Linked DNA regions of Homo sapiens: regions 1, 2, 3, 4, 5 and 7 are each linked to region 6. The links are contacts of gene promoters, found by promoter capture Hi-C in blood cells and fetal thymus (Javierre and others, 2016). All regions are on one chromosome and are shown on one strand. Each heading gives the region's core, a stretch centred on a gene start or on the middle of the fragment in contact. The rest is flanking DNA. Distances are from core to core; before and after follow the strand shown.

The links. Contacts are between HindIII fragments. The CHiCAGO score rates a contact against its expected background, and 5 or more counts as called.
Region 1: a fragment that was not itself captured here is called in contact with the fragment with the promoter of SLC60A2-DT in region 6 in 1 of 17 cell types (neutrophils); the score reaches 5.3 in neutrophils.
Region 2: a contact is called between a fragment that was not itself captured here and the fragment with the promoter of SLC60A2-DT in region 6, in 1 of 17 cell types (endothelial precursors). The highest score is 6.3, in endothelial precursors.
Region 3: a fragment that was not itself captured here is called in contact with the fragment with the promoter of SLC60A2-DT in region 6 in 1 of 17 cell types (neutrophils); the score reaches 8.9 in neutrophils.
Region 4: a contact is called between a fragment that was not itself captured here and the fragment with the promoter of SLC60A2-DT in region 6, in 2 of 17 cell types (naive CD4 T cells and non-activated CD4 T cells). The highest score is 5.7, in naive CD4 T cells.
Region 5: a fragment that was not itself captured here is called in contact with the fragment with the promoter of SLC60A2-DT in region 6 in 1 of 17 cell types (neutrophils); the score reaches 5.0 in neutrophils.
Region 7: a contact is called between a fragment that was not itself captured here and the fragment with the promoter of SLC60A2-DT in region 6, in 1 of 17 cell types (neutrophils). The highest score is 5.4, in neutrophils.

What each region holds. Positions count from the first base shown.
Region 1 is chr6:111,580,208-111,583,565 of GRCh38, reverse strand. TRAF3IP2 (TRAF3 interacting protein 2) reads left to right here. Exons shown (of 9, transcript NM_147686.4): 3 at 3,177-3,358. It also overlaps TRAF3IP2-AS1. Among named protein-coding and RNA genes, the nearest start is that of TRAF3IP2, 24 kb to the left of the region's middle. The HindIII fragment of the contact is 9,291 bases long and covers 1-3,358 here.
Region 2 is chr6:111,686,270-111,689,596 of GRCh38, reverse strand. All of the region lies in intron 12 of FYN (FYN proto-oncogene, Src family tyrosine kinase), which reads left to right. Among named protein-coding and RNA genes, the nearest start is that of TRAF3IP2, 82 kb to the right of the region's middle. The HindIII fragment of the contact is 2,901 bases long and covers 368-3,268 here.
Region 3 is chr6:111,627,885-111,631,111 of GRCh38, reverse strand. No RefSeq gene overlaps it. Among named protein-coding and RNA genes, the nearest start is that of TRAF3IP2, 24 kb to the right of the region's middle. The HindIII fragment of the contact is 952 bases long and covers 778-1,729 here.
Region 4 is chr6:111,703,673-111,707,223 of GRCh38, reverse strand. It overlaps FYN (FYN proto-oncogene, Src family tyrosine kinase), which reads left to right. Exons shown (of 14, transcript NM_002037.5): 7 at 3,122-3,225. Among named protein-coding and RNA genes, the nearest start is that of TRAF3IP2, 100 kb to the right of the region's middle. The HindIII fragment of the contact is 4,924 bases long and covers 1-3,551 here.
Region 5 is chr6:111,562,386-111,565,861 of GRCh38, reverse strand. TRAF3IP2 (TRAF3 interacting protein 2) reads left to right here. Exons shown (of 9, transcript NM_147686.4): 8 at 2,823-2,897. It also overlaps TRAF3IP2-AS1. Among named protein-coding and RNA genes, the nearest start is that of TRAF3IP2, 42 kb to the left of the region's middle. RefSeq lists enhancers at 1-626, 791-1,463 and a silencer at 3,329-3,476. The HindIII fragment of the contact is 643 bases long and covers 1,900-2,542 here.
Region 6 is chr6:111,257,602-111,261,181 of GRCh38, reverse strand. SLC60A2-DT (SLC60A2 divergent transcript) reads left to right here and starts at 1,970. Exons shown (of 3, transcript XR_001743807.2): 1 at 1,970-2,058. It overlaps SLC60A2 (solute carrier family 60 member 2), which reads right to left and starts at 1,843. Exons shown (of 4, transcript NM_153369.4): 1 at 1,455-1,843. The coding sequence starts at 1,481. LOC124901378 (a long non-coding RNA gene) reads right to left here. Exons shown (of 2, transcript XR_007059708.1): 2 at 3,472-3,580. RefSeq lists enhancers at 1,734-1,813, 2,134-2,193. The HindIII fragment of the contact is 14,878 bases long and covers 1,274-3,580 here.
Region 7 is chr6:111,647,694-111,651,443 of GRCh38, reverse strand. The region is part of intron 2 of LOC105377944 (a long non-coding RNA gene); the gene reads left to right. Among named protein-coding and RNA genes, the nearest start is that of TRAF3IP2, 44 kb to the right of the region's middle. The HindIII fragment of the contact is 3,246 bases long and covers 307-3,552 here.

The sequences.
Region 1 (3,358 bases), core at 369-2,868, 320 kb before region 6:
TCTCATAAGGAGCGTGCAGCCTAGATCCCTCATGTGCGCAGTTCACAATAGGGTTTGCACTCCTGTGAGAATCTGCTGCTGATCTGACAGGAGGCAGAGCTCAGGCGGTAATGCAAGTGATGGGGAGTGGTTGTAAATACAGACAGAGCTTCACTTACTCACCCACTGTTTACCTCCTACTGTGTGGCCTGGTTCCTAACAGGCAATGGACTGATACCAGCCTGTGGCCTGGGAGTTGGGAGCCCCTGGTCTAGGAGACCTGTGCCCTAGAAAGTATTAATAGATTGTGCAGTCCTAAATGGCTTCTCTTTTTCTGTAAGTTGGCTTTGTAACTATTGAGCCTTCATTCATTCATCTATTGAGCATCCCCTGGGTGCCAGTACTATCCTTGGAGACATGGTGGTAAGAGGACACAGTCCATGCTTTCACAGAGCTTATATTCTAGTAGGGAAGGCAGGCAAGAAGTTGACAGGTAAAAGTCATGCTTACTTATGCAAACCCATGATAGGAACTACGAAGAAAGCAAAATAGGGAATGGGATAAAGTAACTGGGTGAAGAGGCAGGACTCTTTGGACAGGTGATATTTGGGCTGAGCTCTGAATGGCAAGAAGTCAGTCTGTGAAAATCTAGGGCAAAAACATTCTGGACAAAGAGGGTGGCAAACTCAGGATCCCAAAGGAGAGGACAAGTTTGGGATATTCAAAATGAAGCCAGAGCTTAGTGGGCCAGTGAGAGTGTAGTGGGAGGCAAGATCTACAGGGGCGGGAACCTGATCTAGCAGGGTGGATTGTAAGTGCAGTCCACCAAGACGGTTCTAGCTACAGCTGGGTTTGTAAAGGGTCTGCTCATGCAAGGCTCATTGAAAAGCAGGGCTGGCCCCTACCTGGGGACCTGATAGCAGTGGCATTTTTTGCTATTTTTTAAACTGAGGGAAAGGAGCAGTAGTGACTTGCTCTGTTGCCCTGAAACTGCAACTGGTGATCTGGACCCCCTGGAATATATCCGCCCTGCCCTGAGAAGGCTGCCAAGGTGAAGCCTGTGCAGTAGACCTTGTCCTAGACCATAGGAGTCTCTGTGGGCCTGTCTTCCATTCTGAGAACAGTCCCTTCAAGTCCCAGTCTCCTTTGTCATCCAGGTGCAGGGATAGATCTAGGCAGATCTGTTTCTCCTCCTCCCCCTCTTTAAACCCCTACTACTTGTCATGACCAGGCCTAAGCAATATCAGGGCAAGGGTCATGGGGTCCTGCCAGGAGACAGTCTGGGATGGAGGGGCATGGTCACTTTTGCCAGAAGAAGCATGACTGGAAGGACCCAGGTGGTGACATGGGTCAAAGGAGACAATAATAGATTGAGTCCAGGGAATCTGACCACACTTGAGAGACTAGCTTGGGCACATCGCCAGGTCACCCAAACAGTTTCCTGAGTCTAGGCACTGGGAACCTGGAGGAGGCCACACTAGTGAACGTGCACATTATTTATCTCTTGTTCTGTACTTGAGGCCATCATTCCCCTGAATGTTCCTTTGAAAACGTAGATGGCTCCTGACTGCTTTGCCAAGCTAAGAATACAGTTCTTTTTTTTGTTTTTGAGACGGAGTCTTGCCCTGTTGCCCAGGCTGGAGTTCAATGGCACAATCTCAGCTCACTGCAGCCTCTGCCTCCCAAGTTCAAGGGTTTCTCCTGCCTCAGCTTCCTGAGTAGCTGGGGTTACAGGTGCGCGCCATCACACCCAGCTAATTTTTGTATTTGTAGTAGAGATGGGGTTTTACCATGTTGGCCAGGCTGGTCTCGAACTCCTGAACTCAGGTGATCTGTCTGCCTCGGCCACCCAAAGTGCTGGGATTACAGGTGTGAGCCACCACGCCTGGCCTTAAGAATCAATTTTTATCCACATTCTCAGCTTCTCATTTTGGTTTCAACCTATCAGTCACTTTTTTGTTTACTTGCCAGTTTTATTTTGCTGTACATCCATATATGTATCCTATCTACATGGCAGGCAAACTTGATTATTACATTTATAATCAGCAAAATAATTTTAAGATCAATGAGGGTTGATCTTAAAAGAATCAAAATAATTTTAAGATCAATGAGGATTTTTAAAAAACAAAACAAAACACCTTCCTTCTTGTCCTAACTAGTTACGCCTCCTCCTGGATCGTCTTACTGCTTATGTGGGTAGGAGGGGCAGTGCTTGGATCACTAGGAGGTGCTCATTGCTCATCTTGCAGGGCTACCATGTGGCTCACTTCAGTCCTCTTGCATCTCTCGTATTTCCCAACACCTTACCCCCTTTGGGCCTGGGCCATTCCCTCAGAGCCCTTCCCTCTCACCCTTACTTGGTTCCCTGCATCTCTCCTCTGGGCTTTTAGTTCTATTCTTTTGCGTGATTAAGCATTAGGTCTCTCCTATGCTTAACTCTGGCAGCAGCAGGCTGCCCTTCCCTGGGGACCCTCCTGCTCCTGGTCCTGGCTGGGACCCACTTTCTCCCAGGTTGCACATTCACATAAGTCACTGCCAGCTCTGGCTTTGCTCTGAGCCCAGCCCTCTTCAAGCAGCCCTGGCTCCAAGTGCACGTAGGCTGTAGCAGGAGAGGACCAAGGGAGTTGGAGGGTATTGCCAGTTGGTTGGCTAGTTCCCAGGAGGATGAGCCAAGTTTTCATTCATTTACCTCTTCTTAAGAGGAGAGTGGGGTGTGTGTGTGCGCGCACGTGTGTGTGCACATGCACGTGTATGTCCACTTGGGGGAGGAAAATACAGAGCAGTGATTCTATATCTATCATACAGATAATTTTTCCTAGCCTTGGGTTCGGGACATGAAGGAAATTGTGGTAGGAATGGTGGTGTGAAAGAGGTTCTTCATGGTTGGATTTTCCTAAGTATCTTACGAAAAGAGGAGCCTGTGTAGAGTTTTTTGAAAAGTTTTTTGAGCTCTCCAGCTGGAATACCAAACTGGTGATTTCGCAGATGTTTTTATTTAGGACAAAAAAAAGTGAATTTCGTGAAAACACTCAAGTAATTAACAGTAGAGAAATACGGCAAACATCACAGAGGTGGTAACAGATATCTGGACCCCTCAGCTGGGATCAAGACACAAATGAGCATGGAGCTTATGACTCCTTTCACACGAAGGAGCTAGAGTTGATGTTCCCTGTTGTCTTTGTTGTCTTCACCTACAGATGGCCATGACTACCCTCGAGCAGCCTACCAGCAAGTGATCCAGCCGGCTCTGCCTGGGCAGCCCCTGCCTGGAGCCAGTGTGAGAGGCCTGCACCCTGTGCAGAAGGTTATCCTGAATTATCCCAGCCCCTGGGACCACGAAGAGAGGCCCGCACAGAGAGACTGCTCCTTTCCGGGGCTT
Region 2 (3,327 bases), core at 569-3,068, 430 kb before region 6:
GTAGTATTCCACTGTACAAATATATCACAGAGCCTCCATTCTACTGTTCCTGAACATTTGGGGTTATTTCCAAATTGGGGCCATTATAAATACGGCTGCTGTGGTGATACACACATGCCCTCATCTCTCTGGGCTGTGTTCTCCAGTGGAATTGGTAATTACAGGGCAAACCTAGGTTAGCAATTGCAGTTACTGCCTAACAGATTTTGTGGACATATTTTTAAAAAGGTGAATACACACTTAGTGTGTCATTTGCCAGTACTGTACTTGCCTCTAAGCTGCTAGTGAGGCAGCCTAGTGAGACTGAGGAACCAGGGGTTGGACATTAGGATCCCTGGCTTTGAATCAGCTCTGTCACTTACAAGCTTGGTGTCCGCAGGCCAGTTACTTAAGCTCTTTGAGCCTCATTTTTATCATCTGTAAAATGGTGATAATAAAAATGATCACCTCACATCATTAGTGTGAAACTTACATGGGCTATCTATAAAAGTTCTTTGAGAGTTGTGAAATGTAAAAATCATCCTTATCACCTCAACTTTTTGTATTTGACATACATTTTCCTTGAAAACAGTCTAAAAAGTTTTTAAAGAGAATCACTATTAGTAATAAATAGGGAAAAAATCAATCTTTCAAGAAAAAAAATACTGTCTCCCTATTTTATAGCCTAGGCCAGTCAGTGGATCTGGGCAGTCACCACTTTGATATACCTGCATGCTCCAAGGGCCCCCTCACCCCGGACACAGCGGGGAGTCACACATCCACTGTCCTCATCTCCGGCCAGCTTGCCTATTTTCTCATATTTGCATTCTCTGTTGAGAACTATCCCTGCCTCTGCGCTGCCTCTCTTGTTTTTAATCTTGTGAAGTCTGAATATCAGATGGGCCTTCTCAGCATTTTCACTGAGGCATGTGCATACACACATCAACATGAGCACACATGAGCACACACACGCTGCATGAGCACACACACGCTGCGTGGGCACGGCTGGAGCAGTTCTCCCGAGTATCTGTGGAGTCGGTCTTACTGCTTCTCTATAGAAGTGATTTAGTTTAAAGACTAGCAGCGGGCCCTTGTAGACACAGAGCACATAGTAGTATTTAATAAATATTTGTTTACAGCAATGGAAATAACCAAGGTCACCAACCCCCCCACACTCTTGTGAGACATGCTCTCCTGCTGTCTCTCATCAATGTGCATGGCTCTCTCTGGGAATCAAATGCTGTTGTGGCTGCAGGAACCTCCAGAAAGGGTTGTTTATTGCATTGATATTCCTTGCACACTCCAAGATTGTCTTTGGAGTGATGGGAAGCACAAGAGCTTTGGAGCTAGATAAGCCTGTGTTCACATCCTGACGCCGTATTCCTAGAGCATAAGTTCTGGCCCCTCTGAGCCTCACCTTTCTCATCATAAAATAGGATTGGTGTTGGTTACCTTTAAGGTGGTTGTAAGAATTCAAGAAGACAATTAGTAGAAGTTGTTGGTATTATTCACTTCTTCCAGCTCCTCCCCACAACACTTTGGAGTTTTTTTGTTCTGTTTTATTTTGGTTTGTTTTTTGTTTTTTGGGTTTTTTTTGGATAGCTTGACCTCTTTTCTTCTTCCCACATACACCTCAGTCCCCTCCCAAAGAGGGCAGGGCCTGGACTGGTTAAGAGCATGACCCATGAGATCAAAGTGTCTTGGTATAAATCCTAGCATTGCTGCCAATTCACTGTGAGACCTTGAACAAGTTGCTTAACCTGTCTGAGCTTTTATTTCTTCCTCTTAAAATAGGGATAATAATAGTTATCTATATCATAGAATTGTATGGCTTCCCTGTGAATAACCATAAAGCAGTTGGCACAAAGCCAACACTGAGCTGATAGTGGTAGTTGGCAGTAGTAGTAATAGTAATATTATTATAATATTGATCCAATGGATGCCAATAGCTGTGTTTCTCTCTCTCTCTCTCTCTGACACACACATACACACACACACACACACACACACACCCACCCACCCCACTTTGGGTTTTCCTGATCGCTCCCATCAGGGCTCCTTCCACATGGAGGCTCTGCCTCTATCATCCTTTCTCCTGATTTGAATCCTCATGAAGGACAGGAACTGGGGTTGCTCTATGGTTTTGGTTGGTTTGTTTTTTAAGTTCAAAATTAATGAAACAAATGTCAAGGAAACATAATCTTTGGATCTTTGGACTGTAAATAAAAATAGGAACATTCGGGTCTTTGTATAAGACTGCTGTAAGTTTAGGCTTATGTATTAAATAGAAGAAGAAAAATGTGTCTGTTCAAATGCTCCCAGTATTGAGGGTTTAAATTGAATAGATTATTGTCTGGAGGAAAATTCAAGTATAAATTAGACTACGAAGAATTACTAACTGTTGCAGTTTTCATGTTAATTATTTCATGTTAAAAAATTGTTACCGCATAAATTAACACATTCTTTCATAGAAAACATATTTTAGAAAGATTTGTTACTTTAATAACTCTTTGTGTATTAGAAATCCCAGATGCCTGTACTAATTAAATATAATCAGATTTTAGATTCAAAAAGCACAGTAGCCATTTAACACAAACAAGCAGGCAGCTAGGTTGACAAACACACTCAGGAAGAAGTGGATCCCTGTTTCTTTCGAATTTTGAATTTCACAATCCAGAACTGTGAATTCAATTCCTGTCCTTCCTTTGTATTACAACGACTGGGGATTATTAGACTCAGAGCGCCAGCTTTCCAGCTCAAGGGCTCCTGCAGAATTATTAATCAGCCGCTTCTGAGGCCCCTGTAATCCGGTGGCAGATCAAGGCTGATCTCGCCGTGAGATGCCCTCCCTCTGCCCCCGTCAGCACATGAATTTCTTGTTCTCTGTCAACAACAGCATTGCCATTCCCGCACAGTGTGCTGTGACCTGAACAGCAAATATCAGGAGAGAGAAAAGGAAGAAAAAAAAAACCTTTTTAATTACTGAATTTAATCTAATTCTTCCCATGCTAGAGAAGCAAACCATCCTTTCATGAAAAGCAAACCCTTTAAAATGCAAGCCATTGTCTTAAGCACCGACTAGTGTGTTCCCAACTCAGTGGTGCCGCCATAAAATGACCATGCCAACCCCCACCTCCCCAGCCCACATTGAGAGTCTATCATCCTGAGGGCTGTCTAGGGAGAGACCCCAGGGGACTTGCCCGACAGAATGCCCTGCCCTCCGAGGTCAGACACGGCTTTCCCGCTGAGCTGAGTCGCATGCCTGAACCGTGCTGCTTGTAATCAAGCTTCCCGGATCCGAGTTTGGTACACTTCAGTCACTAAGCAGAAAAGCTCCTTCATTTGTAT
Region 3 (3,227 bases), core at 4-2,503, 370 kb before region 6:
GGTCTTGAATCTCAGCGGTCAGGGGATAGCTTCTCCCCAGCTGAGGTCTCAGAGATGTTCTCTGGCTGACTTTATAGCCTGACAGCTGTGAGATCAGAGGAGGCTGCAGAAGTAGATCTCACTCGTTTGACCTGGAAGGATACCTATGTGCAGTATCTTTCCTTTTTCATCCATTCATACCCCAAAAAAGTCCATATATATTCGGAGGTTATCTGAAGGGGAAAATGGAGGGAAATGTGTGTGTATATAGTCATTTAATATACATATTTAATATAAATATACATTTAATATAATTTAAATATGAAAAATAAGGCACTTTAAAAATATTTGTGCATTATATGTGACCAAGTCTATTTCTGCTCATCAGTGAACAATAGAGCCCAGACCTTGGAAGCTCTTCCAGTGGGCAAACAGTGTGGACCCGGGTGGAGCTACCTGACAGAGTGGGGGCTGGGCTTTAACAGGGAAAGTGGTCCCTTCCGTCACACATTCTATTGTGTGCCTCCATGTCAAGCCTCTTTATACAAATAACTAATTCCCAGAAGCGAGAGAAGAACATGCCCTGATGTTTTATTTTCAGAGTGTCTTTGTCTATTCAGTGCAGTGACCGGTTTGCCACGATTTGCCCTCCACACTGGGCCACAGTAAATTACTTTGGGACTCAGACATCCCACACCTAACATACATAGAACCAAAGAGAATGTATGATCTAGCTTCCTCATTCTGACAAGCTCAAACTAAAGGAATAATGAGTACTATCTCTCTGCTATTTAAGCTTAAGAATGAGACTGTCCTAGGGCTCTTAATTTGCACAGTGTATCAGTCAGGGTAATTAACACTAGCTACAGTAATAAAAATTCCAGTAATATCAGAGGCTTAACACAATTCAGTCATACTCTAGTGCAGTGTGATTTGAGCAGCTCTCCAGAGTATCTCTCCTCTAAGTTATCACTTGGGCTTTTTTCACCTTAGGGCACCACCATCCCCGAGAACTCCTTTGGAGCCTTCTACTGGATCCCCTACCTTCATCTGGCCATCAGTGAACTGATGGTCTAATGGGATGTTTTAGGGGCCAGATCTGGAAATGGCTTTCTGCTCAAATTCAATTGACCAGAACTTGTTGCATGCCCCACCTAGCAGCAAGAAGTCTGGGGAATATTTTCTCTTCGTGTGCTTGAAAGCAGAAATGGAATTGGTGGCAACTAGTCAGTCCTAGACACACCTAGGAATGGAGGTGAACTTGAACTAAGAGCTCAAGGCCTGACAGCATCCCTTTCCTGCCTTGAAGCAGCATTTAATAATCCCATCAGTTGTGATATACATTTATGTCATCTATATAGTGTGATTTGTGGACCATTAGAAAGCTCTTCATCTCCAAAATACCTTCACTAGCCTGCTTATTCTGGAACTTTACCATTAGAAATTCATCCCATTGGGTTCAACATTGCCTTGATCTTTTCTTTCTCTTTTACAGTATGTGCTGGTTATAAGTTTGTGGCCTCTTGACTTTAAATTCACCATTCATTGCATGATCTTCAAAAATGGAGCTGTGCCCTTCAGATATTTTTCTCTTGCATCTGGCACAATGTTAAGCTGTGTGTATATATGTTTAGTCATTTAAATATATACTGTGGTTTGCGGCTTCAGTAGAGGGGTCTGGGGAGACACTGCAGGAGGAAGGGGTTTCTGTCCTGGTTCCCTTATGCTTGCTTGGCAGACACCTGAAGCTTAGCAGGCTCCTGTGGCACAGGCTGCTTCTCCTATGCCTGGCTCCTATAATGCATGGTGACCAGAGGCACCCAGTGGCCAGCAGCTTCCTGGGCACTTCACTCACCTTGGGTGGTTTTGTTGCAGAATGCATCTGGTACAATATCTTCCTGTGATCAGCTTTTCCGGACACCCTAGAGGATGGATTTCCAGGAAGTTTCACCTCTCTGTTCTCTCTGTCATCCCCTATGCCAGAGCTGAGCCTTCAAAAAGTCTGGATCTCAGCCCTGGGGGGCCTCTTTCTTGGCCTCTATCTCAGCTCTAAAGGTAGTGGCTGCTCCTTATAGCTGCCATTCGGATATTCTTTAGAGTTCTTTTTACATCTTACCAATCAATTCTTTGTTACTTTAGTCTCCTGTTATAATGAGTAATTCTTTATATTACACTTTCCCTGTTCAAACTACTGTATAGTTTCTCTCTCTTGATTGCATACAGACTCATATAGAACACAAATGTCCTTGGGGTAGAACTCACAGGGAGTCAATGACACTTTAGTGTAAAATAGTTTGTTTTGTTTTCCTGGCACCTAGAGAGCAATAGTTGCCTTGGAGCTGAGCGAGGGGACAGTAAGAGGAGAAACACCCAGCCAGAGATGATGGGAAAATCCTAGTAAAAAACTTTGCCTATTTCACAATTTTGTCATGAGCTTGACTATAGCTGTTAAGTGTTATTCTTTATTTCAGTGCAAAATGTCTTTGGTTCCCTAGGGTCAGGCTAACAGCGCCAGAAATAGAATGAAAGCACTAGTTTTTCTGGTGAAGCAGCAACTATTGTACTTTGATAAGCTTAGTACGTTCCCCACTTTGTTGTTTTGTTTCTTAATCACACATAGAAATGTGTTGCCATATAAAACATAAAGCGGACAGCTCTGGACGTTTCATTTCATGGAACAGAGCTGGGCTACTCCTGGGTGTACATGATCACCTTCAGGCTGCAAGGAAAATGTGAATCAAAAACATGAGGATTATCAGACAATGAAACAGCTCAGTTCAGGAGAGGATTGTGTTGCCTTTCTCTGGGTGTTGTTAAAAATAGGATCGCAGATCATCTCTTTAGAATGGTGGAAATGTGGTCTTAATTAAAAGCTGGAGTAGGAACAAGGCAACAAAGGTCCCTTCCAACTTAAAAATCTTGTATATCAAAGTGATATATCTACATGATTAAAAAAGCAAATGGTACAGGAGGACTTATTTGGAAAATCAACTGTCCTCTCTCTTATCCTCCTTCTCTCATAGTCTACTGATTCCTGTTCCTCGACTGTCTTCATGTTATAAGGTTATACCCTTTTAAAATGTGTTCATTATCATTTTAATGGGTCCTTGGGAGGGAGTGGCAGAAACCCATGTGCCCAGTCCACCATCTTGAAAAATAAGCTTTCCTATTAAAATTGATTTTTTTTTTTAGGCAAGAACATAAGAAACAGAACCCAGTATTCTGAAAATACCCTGCTTACTAAGTCA
Region 4 (3,551 bases), core at 39-2,538, 450 kb before region 6:
CAGTGGCTGTTTGCCAGCCCTGAGGGAAGGAGAGATGGAGCCATGATTTCCCAAATGCAGGAACTTGGCCTCCTCCTGACACCTTGGGTCTTGCCTCTCTAAAAAGGAAGTTGAGAAAAGTCAGTCACCAAGCCCAACCTTTGGCTCTGCTATTTAATTTCACCATGGATTTGTTTAAGTAGTGCAAGAGGGATTAGACTCCACACCCTAGCCAAATCCCCAGTTGGATTGTTCTATTCTTTAATTCCTTTGTATTTCCTCTAAGAGGATCTGTTTTGTTTCCCACTCTCAAATACTCAGTGGTTCTTAGTTGTTTCTTTCTCCTAGTGACTGTGTTTCGTCATCAGTGAATCAAGGTATTTGTATTTAATTTGTATTTTAGGGCAGATTTGCAAACATCTTTGTGTTCTTTCAGAATAAAAAGTACCACCAAAATGTAGCATTACCCTGATTTAACTGGGAATTTGTCAGCTATATATTTAAGTTATTTTTATAATGGTCAACTTTTTAAATATTTTGTTTTTAAAGAATATTATTTTTTAAAATAATGCCTTCGGTTTTACATATGCAATTAACTATCATTATCTTAAAATACTATTGTTTTGGTGCAATCCATTGTTCTAACAATTCCTTTTTCACCACTGTTTTACACGGCATTCTAATTGGGTTATTGGTACAAACCCAGAAAGCCATTTCTCACAAATAATTGACGTACTAGTCTTTACGCCACCTAATGCTAGATTAAGAATTGTTGCACATTTTGGTGTTTCTAAAAGTCACTGAGGAGCTAATACGCAATGTCTCTTTTCTTCAGTGAAACTTAATTCACAAAAGAATTTGACAGTGAACTCATGATACCTATATTCAAGCATAATGAATTGAAATTTCATTTTAGAATCTGGATTCTTTCACAGTTAAATATTCTAAAAATGGTTCCCACACACAGATTCCAATTGAATGCTCCAGCATTCTCCCTTGGGTTTTGGGGGCACCTGCTGCTCATTCAGCACCTAGTGCTGAAATAGTAACTAATTGCCAGGCTTGGTTAAGGCTTGAAAGTGCAGGGGGAGGATATAAGGCAAATAACAAAAGTCTTGAGGTGACTTAATGTGATGCCTCCTAAAGTGGCACAGAGTATCATTAGTTTCTTCAGGGATAATATATTGAAATATCTGCAACACCAAGTCATTTTAAGGGCATGCTTTTTGACTGGGCACAGATCTCAAAGGTGTACAGTAACCAGTTCTTACAGTTGTGCCAAAGAAAAGATGTACAGGGTCCACCGTGATGGCTCCCTCCTGTAATCCCAGCACTTGGGAGGCCAGGGCGAGAGGATCACTTGAGCCCAGGAGTTTGAGACCATGCTGGGCAACATAGGGAGACAGTCTCACTCTGTCCCCAGGCTAGAGTGCAGTGGCCCTGTCTCAGCTCACTGCAACCTCCACATCCCTGGTTCAAGCAATTCTCGTGCCCCAGCCTCCCGAATAGCTGAGATTACAGGCACATGCCACCATGCCCAGCTAATTTTTGTATTTTCAGTAGAGTTGGGATTTCACCATGTTGGCCAGGGTGGCCTCGAACTCCAGACCTCAGGTGATCTGCCTGCCTCAGCCTCCCAAAGTGCTGGAATTACAATCATGAGCCACCACTCTTAGCCTCTACAAAAAAAATTTTTTTAGTTAGCAGGTGTGGTGATGTGCACCTTTAGTCCCAGGAGGCTGAGGTAGGAAGATTGCTTGAGCCTGGAGAGGTCAAGGCTGCAGTGAGCTATGATTATGCCACTGCACTCCAGCCTGGGTGACAGAGTGAGACCCTGTCTCAAGAAAAAAAAAAAAAAAAGAAGAAGAAGATGATGAACACAGATCACAATCCAGGTGCTTGGTAAATAAATGCCTTTACTTATCCAAGTCCTCACACACCTAGGGGAGGAAAACAAAATACAAGTAAGTACTCATGGGCGTTTTTCTCAGAATTCTTATAGGGAGGAAGTTATTGAAAATACTATTCCTTTATTCATATCATATCTATCTAATCTGACTTTTTTTAATGCTTGATTATCTTCATATACATTAAGACTGTGTTTTGTTATTTCCCAGCAGTTACAATAATGCTTAGATATCAAGAGATTCAAGAGTTTTGTTTTTTTGTTTATTTTTTGTTATGAGACAGAGTCTCGCTCTGTTGCCCAGGCTGGAGTGCAGTGGCGCAATCCTGGCTCACTGCAACCTCCACCTTCCAGATTCAAGCAATTCTCCTGCCTCAGCCTCCTGAGTAGCTGGGATTACAGGTGCATGCCACCACACCCAGCTAATTTTTTGTATTTTTAGTGGAGATGGGGTTTCACCATGATAGCCAGCATTGTCTCCATCTCCTGACTTCATGATCCACCCACCTTGGCCTCCCAAAGTGCTAGGATTACAGGCATGAGCCACCATGCCTGGCGTTTGTTTTTTTTGTTTTGTTTTGTTTTGAGACACGGCTTTGCTCTGTCACCCAGGCTGGAATACTATGGCACAATCTCAGCTCACTGCAGCCTGGGCCTCCCAGGTTCAAGTGATTCTCCTGCCTCAGCCTCCCGAGTACCTGGGATTACAGGTGCCCACCACCACACCAAGCTAATTTTTGTATTTTTAGTAGAGCTGGGGTTTCACCATGTTGGCCAGGCTGATCTCAAACTCCTGACCTCAGGTGATCTGCCCACCTCGGCCTCCCAAAGTGCTGGGATTACAGGTATGAGCCACCATGCCCAGACTAGAGTCTTTTAGATAAGTGTGGAAAGGGTCTCCTGCAGTAACCATTTCAAATCAAGGTCTTAGATTTCTGGTTTTTTGCATACAGGTGGCAGTTTTAACACAAACCAGTTCTGGTCATGTCTAGAGGGGAGGAAAACAACCCACAACTCAAATCTGATTTTTTTTAAAGAGTGAAAGAGATGAATTAGGGATAGAATCCAGGATAGATTGAAAAGGAACTGAATTAAGCTAGAAAAAAAATACATCCAGGGAAAGGTTAAGGACTAAATTGGAGGAGAGGGGAATTCATGGGCAAAAAAAAAGCCTATGCTGTTGCATTTTGTAAATGACTATTTCAAAATATTTTCTTTCCTTGATCTAATTTAAAGGTGGTACTTTGGAAAACTTGGCCGAAAAGATGCTGAGCGACAGCTATTGTCCTTTGGAAACCCAAGAGGTACCTTTCTTATCCGCGAGAGTGAAACCACCAAAGGTAAGATAACGAGTTGAAGAAGTTGGCTTGTCATTCAAATCTGTGGATTAGTCAGAGGGGATGAAAGGCTTATCTCTAATGTACAAGGATTTTAAAATGGCACATACCCTCCCTGCCTTGTGAGTGGAGTCCTGTTTTCAGTCTTCCCTCCAGGCTCTAAAACTGCAGACAGCACCAAAAGAACTACAGAGGCCCCAAATCAAGACCTTCCTCCTGAAACGGGCTGGATGCAGCTACACTGCTCCAGGCACACAAGATCGTAGAATTTTCAGAAGTCCTTTAGAATTTTGATTTTCTGAAATCTTAGTTCCTCAGGTGCCAGTCAT
Region 5 (3,476 bases), core at 972-3,471, 300 kb before region 6:
TCAAAATATCTGGTGCATATCAGATGCTCAAACAAGGGAAGGGAGTGTTCTTAGCTCATGACAGGTGGGGAACTATGGGGCCTGGTTATATTCAAATAAGTGGGAGACATTTAGGATATTAAACTTGTCCAGCATGGGATAAAACTAGAACATTCTGACCGAAACAATCACCCAGCGTTGGAACTGGCTGTTTTATGGGCTACGAATCCTCCTTCTCCCCGTGATTATAGAGACGCTGTGAGACAGTTTCTGCTTGACTAGGAGGCGGTGCTACACTTGTGACTTTCAGGCTGTCCTGTGGAGTTCCCAGTGGGTGCCCATATGTGCTGGAGGAGGGGCTGGGTCTGCGCCTCCCACCCCTACCTCAGCCAGAGCTGGTCTGTACTTCTCAGGCTTGTTTGTTGACCAAGGATTCTGAGATTTAAAAAGGCTTGGAAAATCACTGGACTAGAACTGATAAGCTCCATTTCAGCTCTAACACTTCATGAGGGGGAAGGCACCTGGAATGGGCATAGAGTGTCACTAAGATGGGAAGATGGGGAGGGCACAGTCAGGCTGTCTCGGGGCACACAGCTTTACCTCAGGGGAAGCAGATGTAGGTCCCAGGTCTGTCCTGTGGGTCAGCAGCGTGGGAAAGTAGGAGGGTGGGTATTCCCCATCTGAGTCTTCATGGTCTCTGTCTCCCTTTCCACCAAGTGCAGACCACTCACGTGAGCTCACAACCAAACTGAAGGAAGAGCCGAGGCAAGGTGATGAGGTTAAAAAGTGAGGCCAGGGAGTCAGGAGATAAGGCTCCCTCCTCTTCTGGTCTCAACCAGTCTCACAGCCCTTGTACAGTGCCCCGGAAAGGTATCATTCCTGGGAGTAAACTGCCTGAAAAGGTCATGGCTGGCTCGGGGTGCTGCCGGCCCTTGGTTGTCTGATGCATGTCTGCATGGCCTCAGAGCACCCAATGTCCTGTCTGCATCTCTAGGAACCTGCCAGTCCCAGAAGCTGACAGCTGGTGCGTGGGAAGGGCTCGAGGCCTCAGCCAGTTCCTAAGGAAACCTGTCTAGCTCTGTGGGTGTGTGGTGTAGCCAGGCAGTAATACACAGCTTGGCCTCAGAGCTTGTCTGACTGTACCAACTGGAACCAAACTGTCGCCAAACTTGGTTTCTTGGGCCACAATGTCTTGGGCCCTTACTCATCATAGAAGGGGTCGAAGAGGTCAGACACAGAAGTGCCTTCCTGACTGCCTGGCTGACTTCCTGCACCCCTCTAGGCAACAGAAAACCCTGGAACAACAAGAACTTGGCCATGACAGAGGTAGTGCAGAGGTACTGATGAGTAACTGCATCATACAGTGAATTAGTTTACAGAAACTCAGTTTCTGGAAGGGTGAGAGAAAATAAAAATGCACTGCTGCTGGCTGGCCCCTCCACAGGCTGGGCAGCCTAGTGCACAAGCCAAACTTCACAGTATACGGAGTCCTAGAAGTCAAACAAAACTCAGTGCTTCACTTGTAACTTATGCACCCCATCCCCTTCCTTTCATGTGTACTCGGTGCTGGTGTGGTGGGTGCTTCTAGCTGCACAGTACTTGGGTCATTTTAAAATATGTTCTTGGTGTTATCTTATGGTTTTTAGAGAGAGGTGGTTCCGAAAAAACACCTTGTGGAGGATTTGTGTGTGTTGTGTGATCGTGTGTGTGTGTGTGTGCGTATGCAACTATGTGAGAGTGTGTGTTTATGAGGGGTTTCTATGGTGATTTCAATAACCAGCTATCACCACTGTCACTTTCTTCTCTGTTCTGTTATTTCCATGCACAATGAAAACTTCTCAGTTATAAAAATGAATTGGAAGATGAAATGGTTGGAAACACATAATTCCTCGTCTCCTTCTCATCAGATGACTGAAAGCTTTGTGCTGGTCACAGGATTTGGAAGACTCTAACTCCCCTCCTATTGAAAATTCTGATTTTTGAGAGAGTTCTTGGTAGCTAAATCTTCTTGGGCTACCACAGTGTCAGAGCATATTGGAACTGGTGTGAGGAACCTAAAGCCTGGCAGATGGAGCTCTTCGCAATTGACATCCCCTCTCTGCCAAGCCCATCTTGTGCTCTAGTCACAGTGCATTAGTAGCTGGTCCCAACCACATCAACACACTTTCACACCTCCAGACATTTGCTCATGCTGTTGCCTCTGCCTCTGTTTTCCCTACTTGACCAAAATCTTTTCTTTCAGTGCCCAAATGAACCCTCTTTTGTAACTGTCCTTCCAATCTCTGATGTAGAATGGATGGCCCCCATTCTGGGCTTCTAGAGCAATTGTTAATACTTTTCACCCGGCACTCTGGTTGGTAATTTCCCTTTCTGCCTGCTCACTAGACTGCTGGCTTTGTGAAGATAGGGACTGTATCTGTGGTGTTCTGCTAAGCTGGCTCTCCTGATTTGTAGCACTTACCTATTTCCATGGTATAAATACTCTCCAATACCATCGCCAATTTCAAGCTATCAGTGTGAAGTCACTGAACACAGAATTAGGAAGAGATGCACACAACAAGCTTTTGTGAGCTGCTGCAAGCCAGTTCCAGCATACCCTGGAAGGTATCCTAATCCTTAAAACCCAAAGTCTGACATAGAATGTGACTTCTAACAGGCCTCCAATAAACGACTGATGAGTGAATGGAATAGATGTGTAATGGGGAGGCCTTAAAATGTTAAGTGTGTGGCACTCAAGTATGGAAATCAGAATAAAAATGCCATGTGGACGTGCATGATTATGGGTACCATTAACTCCTCATCCTCATTCCTGAAATTAAACCTTCACATTTGTTTGGTTTCAGATGCAGATTGAGTTCATAAAACAAGGAAGCATGAATTTCAGATTCATCCCTGTGCTCTTCCCAAATGCTAAGAAGGTAAACAAACAAAGAAACAAAATCCTCATAATTCAATCTTTGGTTTGCTTTGCCATCTGGGATTTTAAATGGAAAACCTTGTCCATTCTTTTTTTCTTTCTTTTCTTTTTTTTTTTTTTTGAGATGGAGTCTCGCTGTGTTGCCCAGCCTGGAGTGCAATGGCGTGACCTTGGCTCACTGCAACCTCTGCCTCCTGGGTTCAAGTGATTCTCCTGCTTCAGCTTCCCAAGTAGCTGGGATTACAGGTCCCTGCCACCAAGCCTGGCTAATTTTTTTTATTTTTAGTAGAGATGGGGTTTCACCATGTTGGCCAGGCTGGTCTTGAACTCCTGACCTCAGGTGATCTGCCTGCCTCAGCCTCCCAAAGTGCTGGGATTACAGATATGAACCACCATGTCTGCCATCAATTCTTTATCAATCCTTAGAGATAACAATGTTACCAGAAAGATCAACAAGTTGTACCACTCAGTTCAGCAGTATGAATCAGGAGGGTTTTAAAGCTATCTGATAGGATCACTGCTGTCCTAATTGTTCAAAGAACCGTTGCACACAAAGATGTAGTTTCTGTTTTAACTCAAG
Region 6 (3,580 bases), core at 721-3,220:
TTCCACGCCATCAGAATTAGTCAGTAAAGGTTGCTTAAAAAATATTACACGCCCAAGTACAGAATGACTTTAACAATAAAACTTTACTCAATGCAGTGTCAGCAAGAGGTAAGGATTACAATTGACTTTCAGAGGAAATTCATTGGACATTTAAAGAAAAAAATGTTTCCAATCAGTCTACATTTCCAGAATAACTGATTCTAATTGCCCTGCTCTGCTCTAAATGCATGGGGTGCGCCCCCTGCCCAACTCGTAACAGTCCAAGACCACGGACCACTATGGGCCCAGGTGCACAGCAAGCACCTCGTACTTCGAGAGAAGCCTGAGCACAGAATCTAATCAAATTAGTTCATGTCTTCAAAGGATTTACAACAGGACCGGACAAGTCAGTGACGACTCACCAAAAGTCTGAAGTGATTTCTTTCTTCACCCCTCCCCACCGCCCCCAATCAAAATACTCTAAGAAACAACTGTGGCTCAGAGTCCCTGAGATGGTAAGTGACCACACATGACTCTTGGGAGGACTCATCCTCTCAACTCCCCCAGGATCATAATTATCAAGTGATAAGGAGGAGGTTTCCGAAAAGTGAATTGAGTGGCGACCCAGGGGTTTGGCAAAAGGCGCCTCTAGGCTTGCCCTTTGCTCCAAGAAAAACATTTAAGAATCTAAAGGTTGGTTTTATTAATAAATAGGATGGTGGGCAGAGTAAAAGACATATTTCTGGCTCTATCACTTAACCAGCTGTGTGATCCAGAAAGTCACTTTCCCCTCCGGGCCTATTTCCTTATCTGCAAAATTAAGCGGTTGGCTGAATTTGGTCAGATCACCAGGAAGAAATTCCAGAAAAGTAGTTTTTCTGTGTAATAATTTGGGGGTTGAGTGGGTGGGTGCGGAGAGCAGCGGCCAAAGACCTGGTGAACCCCTCTTGCAACCTTCCCATCCGACGAAGGAGACGTAGGAAGGCTTGCCGGGCCGGGCGCCGTGGCTCACGCCGGTAATCCCAATACTTTGGGAGGCCGAGGTGGGCGGATCACCTGAGGTCAGGAGTTTGAAACCAGCCTGGCCAACATGGCGAAGCCCCGTCTCTACTAAAAATACAAAAATTAGCCGGGCTTAGTGGCAGGCGCCTGTAATCCCAGCTACTCGGGAGGCTGACGCAGGAGAATCGCTTGAACCCTGGGGGCAGAGGTTGCAGTGAGCCGAGATCGCACCACTGCACTCCAGCCTGGGCAACAGAGCGAGACTCCGTCAAAAAAAAAAAAAAAAAAAGCTTGCTGGAGCTGAAAGACGTATTCAGAAAATCTATTTCCTCCAAGATTAGAATTGTGCCCATTTTCTAGATGATGAAACTGAGGCCCAGTCAGATTAGGTAACGCGCCCAAGGTCAGTTTGCAAGTGGCGAAGGCAAGACTCGAACGCCCCGGCCTGGGAGTGTTGCAGCCCCGGCTCTCACCAGCCCCAGGAAGGAGGCACACAGCATCAAGGTGGTGAACCACCGCAGCTTGCTCCCGGTCCCACCGCTCTGCCAGGAGACCACCACCACCTCCGGCTCCGGCTCATTCTCCGCCGGGGCCTCCGCCTGCAGGAGCCGCTGCCCCGCAGCCGGGGGCCCGGCCCCACGGAGCTCCACCTCTAACTCCAGCTCGGCGGCTCCGGAGAAGTCGTCTTGCTGCCGCCGCGCTTCTCAGCAGAACTTCTGGAGCTCCGAGAAGAGCACTGGCCCCGACCCCAGGCACGGGTGTCCCTCCGGGCGCCACCTCCCAGCGGACCGCCCGGAACCGGGGCAGAGAAGAGGAACTTCGGCACGCCGCAGGTGTTCGTGGCAAAAGACGCTCGCTCTCCAGCAAGCAGGCGCATGCGCGGGTCACGTGGCGGAAATGTGGCCTCTCGCCAACCGCTATCGTGCCTCAAGCCGGAAGTTGATATGGTTGCCTAGGAGACCGGACGTAGCTCTCTAGCCTAGGCATCATACTTAGCTGAGCTCACAGAGGCTGGCGGACGTGCGCCCCATGGCGGAGCGAGCTGAAGTTGCAGCCTGGGACCAGGGAAATCAAGAGGTAAAAATGCGGCCAAACCATTATGAGGAAAAGGGGCCAAGAATTACACTGTAGCGCCTCGCGCCGGCTCCCCGGTCTCCTGGGGAGCGAAGGGAGCCTGAAGAGCTGGTCCTTATACAGCTTTCTGAAATCCCTGAGATCTGTCAATGAATCGCGCATCTTTCACTCCACAAGTATTTGTTGAACGTCATTGTGTAAGTTATCACGTATATTATCTCAACCCTCACAACACTCCAAATTCCACGTTATCCCCGTTGTACAGATAGAAAGATTAAGTCATAGAAAATAATTAACAATCTGCCCAAGCTCAGTCATCGAATTAGTGGCCGTATATAAACAGTGTAACAGTAGCTCAAGAAAGAAATCGGGATCCAAAGCTGTGGTTTCAAACACAATTCCTGAAATAATTCCAATTCCTGAAATAATTCCATCGTTGTAAAGAAGTGGAGCGTGGCATCGATTTGAGGAATTTTTTTTATATACTTTAAGTTTTAGGGTACATGTGCACAACGTGCAGGTTAGTTACATATGTATACATGTGCCATGTTGGTGTGCTGCACCCATTAACTCGTCATTTAACATTAGGTATATCTCCTAATGCTATCCCTCCCCCCTGATTTGAGGAATTGTTTTCCTTTTGCTCTTTAACAAAGCGTACCACAGCCTCAAAATGTTATATACTTTTCTTTGTGGTCTATTTGAAATGTTCTTTTCCACCTGATTCTTCCAACTTTCATCCACTTAGGCTCCCAGACTACAAACCTTAGTCTCATCATCCCTTGCAACCCGTCTCTCCAGACTTATTCGTTTAGTCATTAAGTCTTCCCCCCACCCGCACCCCCACTTTTTTTTTTGTTTGTTTGTTTTCTTTTTTGAGACAGAGCCTATGTCGCCCGGGCTGGAGTGTTGTGGCGCTTTTTGGTAGAGACGAGTTTTCACCATGTCGGCCAGGCTGGTCTCGAACTCCTGACCTCAAGTGATTCGCCTGCCTTTGGCCTTCCAAAGTGCTGAGATTACAGGTATGAGCCACCATGCCCCGCCAAGCATTTCTTTTTTATTTATTTATTTATTTATTTATTTATTTATTTATTTATTTATTTGAGACGGAATCTCGCTCTGTCGCCCAGGCTGGAGTGCAATGGTGCGATCTCGGCTCACTGCAACCTCTGCCTCCTAGGTTCAAGCGATTCTCCTGCGTCAGCCTCCTGAGTAGCCGGGATTACAGGCGCGTGCCACCACGCACGGCTAATTTTTTTATTTAGTAGAGACGGGGTTTCACCATGTTGGTCAGGCTGGTCTCGAACTCCTGACCTCATGATCCGACCGCCTCGGCCTCCCAAAGTGCTGGGATTACAGGCGTGGGCCACCGCGCCCGGCCCGCCAAGCATTTATTTTAGAGCAGGTCAGCTGGCATTCCTTCATATGAGAATGTCTTTATTTCACTTTGATTCCTGAAAATATTTTCACTGAAAATAGAGTTCTGGGCTAACCGTTATTTCCTTTCAGCACAGAAAGATGAGAT
Region 7 (3,750 bases), core at 680-3,179, 390 kb before region 6:
CTGACTCATCATTAAGTAGAGACAAGCTGGACCCACCCAGCTCTGCCCAAATTTCAAATTTCTGAACAAAACAAATGACTGTGGCTTTAAGCCATTAAACCTTGGGATAGTTTACTTTGTAGCAATCAATCAATAGAATGTATACTCTATGCTAAATGTTGCATGAATCCATTCCCACATCTTTCTAGGGTGCCTCCTGGTGCTGCAGAGTCTAGGAAGCTAAAAACTACACTGCCCAGAGTCTCTTTTCATTAGGATCATGATTGTGAGTTAAGCTACACCAATTAGACTTATTTGCACAAAGCTTGGAAGGCAGAGGCCAATGTCTTGCAGCTTTTGGCTACTTTCTGCTGCAAAGCAAGATCATGGAGCTACTGATAGCCACTCTCCAGCTTCATGGGCATCAAGAATCTTGTGGACGTGGCAGTGGCTAGGTTCCTCTGCCTGGCAAATGCGGTGGTGGCAGTAATTCACGCTGTTCCTGGCTTGCTGACCACTTTCTGGCCTTGTCTTGCAGCCATGATGTTCTTGCAGTCAACAGTCCCAGTGGCAGCTTCCTGAGTCCTCCTTCCTGATTGTGGCAGAGGTGATAGCACCCCTGACAGATTGATTTTACCACATTCTGGGAGCCATCCTCGGAGGCCCAGCCTAGAGCCCTCTCTTCCAGCCTTTCCAACAAGTTTGCAATTCTTCATGTTATATTCTTTTTTGCTTAAAAACTCTAGCATGGTTTCTATTTCCTACACAGAACCCTGTAACAGATATCCAGGTGATCCCAAAGTTTTGTCTCTTCTCAGTCTTTCTTTTGTTCTTGCTTGTTTGCTTTCTCTCATTTAATCATTCCTTTAATAAATATTTATGGAATGTCTACTATGGGCCAGGCACTGCACTAGACCCTGGAGAAAAATCGATGAACTAAGCAGACATGGCCTCGCCCTCATGAGATGAGGCAGGGCAAAGACCATGAGGCAGCAAAAGACAACCCTTGGGTCCAGTCGGCCCCTGCTTGTTTTTGTATATAACGTTTTCTTGAAACACAGCACACTCATTCATTTATGTCTTGTCCATGGCTGGTTTTGCCCAACAATGGTAAAGTTGAGTAGTTGCAACAGAGACTATATGACCTACAATGCCGAAAATACTTACTATCTGGCCTTTTTTAGGAAAAGTTTGCCAGCTCCTGTATTAGATAAATAAAACGCCAAGTCATACTCCTTTGGTTCCCCACAGCCAATAAGTTGCTCTTTCTGTCAATTCTGCGGACACCAGGGGTCCCCAACCCTTGGGTCATGGAGTGGTACCAATCCGTGTCCTGTTAGGAACCGGGCCGCCCAGCAGGAGATGAGCGGCAGGTGGGTGAGCATTACTGCCTGAGCTCCACCTCCTGTCAGATCAGCAGTGGCATTTAGATTCTCAAAGGAGTCTGAATCCTATTGTGAACTGCATGAAAGGGATCTAGGTTGCAGGCTCCTTATGAGAAGCTAATGCCTGATGATCTGAGGTGGAATGGTTTCATCCCGAAACCCTCCCCCCACCCCCATGCCCACCACCAGGCTATGGAAAAATTGTCTTCCATGAAACTGGTGCTGGTGCCAAAAAGGTTGGGGACAGCTGGCAACACCACAGCACCATGCATGGTGCTAAGCACTTCATGAGAATCCTCTAAGTTAATTCTCAGAACAACCTTTGGGATACATTATTATTATCTCTGTTCTACAGACAAGGAGACTGAGATTTAGAGAGATTTGGGCTTAGGTGACTGGGAGGATGGTGATATGGAAAAGGAATAGAAAACAGGCAGAAGATGACAAGCTCAGTCCGAACTCACAGCACATGAGGCACCTGCAGAGAGGCACACGGGGCTATCCCGGTAGGTTTCAGGCTTGGTGTGAATTTCAAGTCTGGACAGCTTTTAAGTTCAAATCACAATTCTACCATTGACTAACTAGCTGTGTGACTTTGGGCAAGTTACTTCACTTTCCCTTCTGGCTTCTTTTATTTTTTATTTATTAATTTTTTTTTTTTTTGAGATGGAGTTTCACTCTTGTTGCCCAGGCTGGAGTGCAATGGTGTGTGATCTCGGCTCACTGCAACCTCTGCCTGCCTGGTTCAAGTGATTACCCTGCCTCAGCCTCCCGAGTAGCTGGGATTACAGGTGCCAGCCACCACGCCTGGCTAATTTTTTGTATTTTTAGTAAAGACGGGGTTTCACTATGTTGGCCAGGCTGGTCTCGAACTCCTGACCTCAGGCGATCCACCCACCTCGGCCTCCCAAAGTGCTGGGATTACAGGCTTGAGCCACCACACCTGGGCTATTTATTAATTTTTTAAAGAGACAGGGTTGCTCTGTCACCCAGGATGGAATAAAGTGGTACAATCATAGCTCATCACTGTAACCTCAAACTCCTGGGCTCAAGCCATCCTTCCACCTCAGCCTCTCTAGGGGCTAGGACTACAGGCATGCACCACCACACCCAGCTAATTTTGTGTGTGTGTGTGTGTGTGTGTGTGTGTGTGTGTGTGTGTTTTCTTTGGTCCAGGCAGGTCTCAAACTTCTGGACTCAAGTAATCCTCCCACCTGAACCTCCCAAGGCACTGAGATTACAGTTTTCTCATAAATAAAATGGGCTCTTGTGAAAACTAGAAAAAGTAATATGCAAACAGTATCTAGCATCATAGGGGCTAGGTACACAGATACATGTGCCAGGTATATGGTACGTGGTATATGTTTGATACGTGTTGGCAACTTCTCCTTCCCCTTCAGTCTTATCCTTCACATGGTAGAAAGTAATCTTCCAGAATTACAGCTTTAATTATGTTATTTTCCTCCTCAAAAAATGTGGTAGTTCCCACTGACCCCCACTGTCATGGAAGGAGACCTGTTTGGAGGACCTGCCCAGCCACGCCTCTTTCTTTCAACTTCCACACACACTATCCCCTCTATTGAAGGGTGAGCACAGTAGGTTGTGTTTTCACTGTATAACACCCCCACCCTGCCCCCGACCAGAACAGCTGATATTTGAGGGGTAGACACCTGACCAAGGGACAAACAGTCCATTGGCCACTGGCTAATCAAATTGTCTCTGTCCAGTTGGATCCAAGAATCAAGAGACCGTGGTGACAGATGCTTGGCCTGCAGGTTGGCTTAAGTCAGGGCTAGAGTTGCCCTATGGGTGATCAGATGACACAGCGTGCAGAGAGAAGCAGTGGCAAGAAACCATGGGCCACCAGAGAGAGTGACTGGGAATAGCTACTGTCCACGCTCTAGCATCTGGAGGTCCAATAGCGCTACCCCACATCATTTCTGTGAGATTCCTCTGAAGCATTGTGTACATCAGCTCTTTACTTGAGCAAATCCAAGGGAGTTTGGTCCACTACAGTCTGGCTCCACTGTCTGGCCAGGCTCATCTGTCCCATCACCTCCACCATCACCCCTGCCTTATCTCCTGGCTACACTGAGTTACCCACAACTCTGCAAGCATGCTCTGCACTGCTCCTTTCTTTCCTCCTTCCTGGACTGTTCTTTTTCCCTCCCTCCTCTTCTTAAAAGCTTATCCACTCTTTGAGACTCAACTCAAATGTCTAGTGATGGCCACCCTCTGAGAACGCCCTGCTCCTGGCTCTGGTCTTTTGAAGGCAGTCACTGCACAGCACTGCTGGCTGCAGTTGTTAGCATACATCCTTGAGTTTTGCTCCTTGCCACTAAGCTCACTGAGGGTAGGAACCTGGCACACATTAGGACTGATATAT